2 separate regions of the Homo sapiens genome follow, and region 2 is linked to region 1. Evidence: promoter capture Hi-C in 16 types of primary human blood cells and fetal thymus (Javierre and others, 2016). All regions are on one chromosome and are shown on one strand. Each heading gives the region's core, a stretch centred on a gene start or on the middle of the fragment in contact. The rest is flanking DNA. Distances are from core to core; before and after follow the strand shown. Region 1 holds the start of C11orf16 (chromosome 11 open reading frame 16). Region 2 overlaps ZNF143 (zinc finger protein 143).

What was found. Contacts are between HindIII fragments. The CHiCAGO score rates a contact against its expected background, and 5 or more counts as called.
Region 2: a contact is called between a fragment that was not itself captured here and the fragment with the promoter of C11orf16 in region 1, in 1 of 17 cell types (fetal thymus). The highest score is 5.3, in fetal thymus.

What each region holds. Positions count from the first base shown.
Region 1 is chr11:8,931,304-8,934,633 of GRCh38, reverse strand. C11orf16 (chromosome 11 open reading frame 16) reads left to right here and starts at 1,687. Exons shown (of 7, transcript NM_020643.3): 1 at 1,687-1,733; 2 at 2,308-2,492. The coding sequence starts at 2,326. RefSeq lists an enhancer at 1,230-2,068. The HindIII fragment of the contact is 4,544 bases long and covers 1-3,330 here.
Region 2 is chr11:9,527,189-9,530,518 of GRCh38, reverse strand. ZNF143 (zinc finger protein 143) reads right to left here. Exons shown (of 16, transcript NM_003442.6): 16 at 1,995-2,989. The coding sequence ends at 2,906. Among named protein-coding and RNA genes, the nearest start is that of WEE1, 45 kb to the left of the region's middle. RefSeq lists an enhancer at 137-863. The HindIII fragment of the contact is 622 bases long and covers 1,431-2,052 here.

The DNA.
Region 1 (3,330 bases), core at 438-2,937:
ATTTTTTAATTTATTTTTTATTTTTTGAGACAGAGTCTTTCTTTGTCACCCAGGCTGGAGTGCAGTGGCGCGACCTCGGCTCACTGCAACCTCTGACTCCCTGGTTCAAGCGATTCTCCTGCCTCAGCCTCCCGAGTAGCTGGGATTACAGGCGTGTGCCACCATGCCCAGCTAATTTTTTGTATTTTTAGTAGAGACGGGGTTTCACTGTGTTAGCCAGGATGGTCTCGATCTCCTGACCTCGTGATCCACCTGCCTTGGCCTCCCAAGTGCTGGGATTACAGGCATGAGCCACCGCGCCCGGCCATGGGTCTTTCTTAGACTCTCTGTGTGCCAAATAACTCCGCCTTGGTATACGGTCCTGGGCAGCAGTCATTCTCCTGACTATGAAGTGATGCTTCGGGAGGGCAGTCATCAGTTAAGAGGCTTTTGGTTGCAAGTAAGAAACAGCCCAATCCAGAGTGGCATAATCAATAAGGGGAATTATTGGCTCACAGAGCTGAGGCCTAGAGTAGCAGCACTGCCTGCAGGCAGGACTCAGTACTGTCACCGAGAACCTATTTTCAGCTGGGCGTTGGGGTGCATGGCTGTAGTCCGAGCTCCTTGGAAGACTGAGGCAAAAGCATCCCTTGAGCCCAGGAGTTTGAGGCCAGCCTGGGCAACCCTGTCTCAAAACAAACAAACCAACCAACCCTCTATTTCCTGAGGTCTATCCTCTCTTTCTCTGGGAATAGCTTCAGTGTTCCCAAAAGGCTGTCAGAGGCTCTCAGAACTATCAGCTTTCTTATTCAGGCATAGGAAGAAAGAGAAAGCCTATATCCCAGGATTCCCAACCAAAGTCTCCAGATTCCTGCTGATTGGAGAGGTTCAGGAACACGCCACTGCCTGACCAACCCCTGGGGCCAGACGGGGATGGAAGGGGTGACTGACACCCACTCTACCCCTGGAGGTGGGTACTTTGGCCTCCCTATCCACATGGATCTGCCAACTGAAACAGGACCTGGTAGAAGCGGGGTATGAATGTGGGGGAGACACATCCAAACGTGCCTGCATACCAGGCATATAACCAGTGCACAGTGACTGGCAGAGGCCTCCAAATACGAGCCCCTCCCACAAGCAGAATCTGGACTTCTGTTCCTTTGTTGCCAGTGTCCACACCTCTCACTCCAAATGGTCACAACACCTCTGCTCCTCAACAGAGTCCTGCCTGTTATAGACAAACAGGCCCACACCTTTGGTTATTTTGGTTTAGACTAGGGACAAATTCTATCCTAGAGTCCCCAGGCCGCCAGTGGCTCCCCCATTCCTGCCTCTAGTGTGTACAGGGAGGACGCCCTCAGTTTCTGCGGAGGTGGCTCCTCCCTCACAGGAGTCTCCTGGGATCCGTGAGGGCTTCCCACCACCACTGACTCTTCCAGCAGTGGAGCAGCCTGAGCTTTGGAGAACTGAGGCTACACTGGCCTTTTTCCCTTCTTCCTCCTCCTCTTCTCTCCAAAGGGAAACCTGGAGAACACCCCCTCCCCCATCACTTCCTGCCCCACCCCTACCTCCCAAGGCCTCCTGTCCCCCTCTCCGCATGCTCGGTGCACTCACTGGCCACAGACGACAGCGTCCCCAGGCTGCACCCATGGTAACCGGCGTGGCAACCAGGAGTCGGTTGGGCTGAGACCCTGAGCCCCAACTGTCAGAAGGAGCCTGAGGCTGAGGTGGAGGCTGGGAGTTTGGGGCTGTGGGTAAGTCCTTGTGGGGTCAGACCTGTGGACTTGGGCAGGGGCAGACCCTCACGGGGCTCTGGTGGGCTGCAGCAGTGCGGCTTGATCTTGGGCCCTGGTGGCAGCTGTCTCCTCTGAACAGGGCTGGAAAGGGGATGGACGGCCCTGAGATCTCAGCTTGCCTGAGGCCAGAACTAGCCTTGTAGGTGGCCGGGGAGGAGGAAGGAGGAAAAATACTAACATAAGTTGAGCTGCTGAATACGCCAGGTGCTTTCCATGTATTCTATCCTGAGTGTAACTGGAGAGCAGAGGTTAAGTGAGCACACAGCCAGCAGGCTGTAGGGGAGGATTTAAAGCTGGGCTGCTCTAAACTCACAGCACTTGCTCTTCCAATCCCTTCCCTGTTTCCTGAGTGGAGGTTCCCAAGGCAGGTGACTCAAAGAGGAAACTGTGAGAGTTTGTGGGAGCAGGTAGGGCCGTGCATGGACTCAACTGTCCCCAGAGGCAGCTAACTGCAGAGCTGAGCCCTGCCTCGCCCCGGTGGCCACTGCTTGCTTCAAGCTGCAGCTCAGGTAATGGTGGTGCCTATTCTCAGGTGGATCCTCTGAAGGCCATGGAATCCTCCACGGGGCCCAGGATGCCTTTGCTCAAATACTGCAGCGTGGCCACAAGCCTGAAGGCCCCTGGCTGGGACGGTGCTGCTCCACCTTGGGACCTCTCCTTCACCTACCCCTTTGCCCTCCAAGCACCCTGGCTCACCGGGCACAAGCCCCTTGCAAGGTACCTGTCTCTGCCCCTCTGGGGGAAGTGGATGCCCTTTTCTTTTTCCTTTGTTCTTGGCTGTTGGTGGTAGACCTTGGTGGACAGACTTGCTTCCTGAGAAGGTGGAAAGGGGTCGTCATTGTTTGGCCTATGATTGGCATATCTGTGTGGGGTCTGTCACTCCAGCCTACATTGTGCTCCCAGAGCCCTCCAGGGTTGATCTGGCTTTAGCAGAGTTGCAGATGCTGCAGTTGGCATGAGTAAGAGAAGGCAGTTAGGGATAGCCAGTTACCAAGTTTATAGCTCATTTTACCATCAATGCTGAGACTTGGCTGGGCGCAGTGGCTCACACCTGTATACAATCCCAGCACTTTGGAAGGCCGAGGCAAGCAGATCACTTGAGGTCAGGAGTTCGAGTCCAGTCTGACCAACATGGCAAAACCCCATCTACTAAAAACACACAAAAAATTGGCTGGGCATGGTGGCTCATGCCTGTAATCCCAGCACTTTGGGAGGCCAAGGCAGGTGGTTCACCCAAGGTCAGGAGTTCGAGACCAGCGTGGCCAAGATGGTGAAACCCCGTCTCTACTAAAAATATAAAAATTAGCCAGGCATGGTGGCGGGTGACTGTAATCCCAGCTACTCAGGAGGATGAGGCAGAGAATTGCTTGAACTCGGAAGGTGGAAAGGTTGCAGTGAGCCGAGATCGCACCATTGCACTCCAGCCTGGGTGACAGAGTGAGACTCTGTCTCAAAGAAAAAACAATAATTAGCTGGGCGTGGTGGCACATGCCTGTATTCCCAGCTACTCAGGAGGCTGAGGCAGGAAAATTGCTTGAACTCGGGAGGCAGAGGT
Region 2 (3,330 bases), core at 492-2,991, 600 kb before region 1:
AGTATTCCTTGAAAGCGTCATCCCTGAAGGAAACCTAGGTACAGAAAGTGCTTATCATGCAGGAGGCTGAGGCAGCTTTTCTCCCCTTCCAACACGCTCCCTTTTCCTCTTCGACACTAGACTTCAGCTCTGCCCCCTTCTTTTTCACATCCCACTCCTCGCTCGCTGCTGAGGTCTACCAATAGTTGACTAGTCTATAATCTTATCTGAGCCAGGAAATACTGGACGGTAAACTCCTTGGGTTGATAAATGGAGTCCAGTCAGTTTCAGCACTGAGACCACAGTTTCCCAAGTTGCTTACCTAGCCCCAGGGCTGTCACACGGGAAGGCAAGCAGCAAGCAAGAGACACTGTACAAAGTTAGTTTGCCCTGAAGGCCTGGGGGTGGGTAGGAGGGGAAGGAGAGATCTGGCTCTCTGGGCAGCTGTCACCTCTAGAGAATTAAGAAAGCCTCGTCCCTCCCTTAACTCTAAGTTCTTTTGAGTTCAGACTAGGGCACATTTTCTTTGTAGTGGCCTCAAGCTTTGTCTGGGGCAAAGCAGGGTGGTTTTTTTGGACGGAGAGGTTTTCCTTGAGCACTGTCTGGATCAAATTCCAGAGGGTTATGCCCCACCTGGTTCTGTTTGCTAGCGTTTACTCTTATTTCAAGTGTCTTTTTGGGATTTTTCAACCTTGGACGTTTCCATGTCCTGCACTGTGAAGAGACCCTATAGCAGCTTTCCTAGCAATTGTCAGCACACCAACTGCACCCTTCCCCTGGAGGAAACAGGCCACCTTGCCAGGCTCCTGAGGCCCCATTCCCAAGAAGGCAGGTCAGGTTAAACTAGCAGCGACCCTAGGCCCTTTTCTCTGGGTGCCAGAGGTCATTTTCTTTTGAGCTGAGGGATAATCAGGCTAACCAAAACAGTCCAGGTTAAGCCCTGCCCAATCCAACTGGCAAAGGTGCTGGGAGTAAAGAGAAACACCCTGGAATTTGAGCAAAGTCAGATCTAAGGGGCCATGGGAGGCTGACAGCTTGGTTTTTGGTCCTGGGAAGTACAGCAGCCTGGCTGGGCCCAGTGGGGAGGAGCTCCTGGCCAGCAGCCAGGACCAGCACTGGGAGGCTGGGCGCCACCCTGCCTGCGATTTTGCAGATTCTGGTCTTCTACCCCGCCCAACAGCCCCTTTCTGAGCCTCAGTGGGCTTCCGGGGGGAGTTCTGTGTGGGTCTGTGTCTCTGTCAAGAATGAAGACTCGATCGGTGGTTGACTAGGGCTTTTGCTAATGTTATGCATCTGTAAAGGGTTCTGCAGGAAAAGTTCTGCCCAACCCTGAAGGGCTTCCGATTTCAAGTAAGTCACCATCCTTTTTAGCAAGATCATAGAACCTGATCAAAGATAACATTTATGTAAAATCAAACAGCACAACGTTTTCCCCTTTCTACTGTAAAGCTTGAAATGAAAAAGCCACATTTCAGCTCTCTGCAAATAAAGCTCGCTGAACTACAGTGCAGGAGGGGCTGCTGCGGAACACACCATCTTTTTTTTTTTTTTTTTGACCTTGGTGAACGCTGATTTTCCAGCATTAGAAAATGGTTTTTATACTGCTCAATTCATTAGGCAATCAGAAATCACCAAAGTTCATCTTGATAATCTCTGCCACAAATGAGCATTTGAGGAGGTAACTGTGGTGCAGTGAAAACACACTAGACTTGGAGCCAGAAAGTCTGGGTTCTCGTCTTGGTCCTGCCTCTCCATAGCTGTGAGGGCTGGTACGACAGTCAGCCTCCCTCCTGGACTCTTGGTTTCCTCATGTAAAAAACGGAGGTAGTAAATCCCATATGTCTCACAAAATTGTTGTGAATATATAAAAATATATGGAAAAGCACTTACTCTGTACTTGATAAACAACATCCTTTCAATATGTGTATTAGGTTACATTCCATTACATTTGCGATATTTTCTGCACCATTTCCCCCCAACCCCCCACCAATATGATAAATAAATAAATATAAAAGTAACATTTTAAAAATTGCTGTATTCAAAATTAATAATAAACTTTGGGGTAAATAAGCTTTAAAACAAAAGTACATAAGCAAAAATAAATAATTTACACCAACCCACTAACCTAATTTTCAGAGTAAAGCCATTTCCAATTACAGTACTGTTATCCCGGGCACCAGCCTGTGGTTAAACTTTGATGATTCATTATTTTTAAAAAACAGTAATAAAAATTGAATACTAAGCAAAATCTTTAACAAAACCACTGGATTTAACTTTTTAATTTTAAATAACCAAATTTTATAATTTTGTACATAATTCAATGTAATGCCAATATAATTAGCATTTCAGCTTGAAGAGCTGGTTTTTAACAGGGATGGGAAACTATAAATTATTCAAACAGTCTGCAAACCATGAGATACAAATAAAAATGGACAAGCATATAGTAGAACAAAAACCGCAGACACTCTACTAACTGGGGAAATATCTGAAGGCTTTACACCCTTTATTATCCATAATGGCTTTTGGAATTACGATTGTGTGACATATAGAACCTTTGATATTTTAGATACAGCCTTTATTTTTTTTTCCACGGGAAGTTAAAAATCCATCATAAGACTCCATAAGACTTTACTAGTCTTGCATGTAGACTCTAGGAGTTTGTGATCTGATAAAAGAGTAACATGAAAATTTACTGTATTGCCCTAATTTCATACTTCCTTGTACACAATGAATCACTCTGAGAATCTATTCCAAGGGTTATATACACAAAAGTGTCAAGAATAAAATGTTCTCCACTCTCGCATAAAAATGTGTACAGTGTATCAGGAATGGAAAACTTCTAATTTTCCTGGGCCCGGGCTTCATGGATTTCTGCTGCCAGAAGATGAAAGACTCCTTCTGCTTTATTGCTCCATTGTTCTGAGGATTAATCATCCAACCCTGGCGTTTCTCCTTGTTGGATTCTAGACGCTATTCTGATGGCTTCTTCCAGAGATGGCTGTTCTCCAAGCTGAAACAGGAACACACACATCAAACGCTAACAATTCAAAAGCCACAGTCAAGAAAATGCCAAAGAAATGTTATATGCCAGAAGTGAAACTTCTCTCTGTAATTCTGACACTTGGGATTGTTAAAATACTACTGCTAACTCAAACATTAAGAGAACAAAACAATTTCCTGCAGGGGAGAATAATGCAATGCAATTTCTTTTTCTTTTTTGAATTTCAAATCCTATGTGCAGCCAGGCCTGGTGATATGATGAGGTCTCAGCGGGGCATGGTGGCCCATGCCTGTAATCCCAACACTTTGGGAGGTGGAGGCAGGCAGATTGCTTGAGCCCAGGAGTTCGAG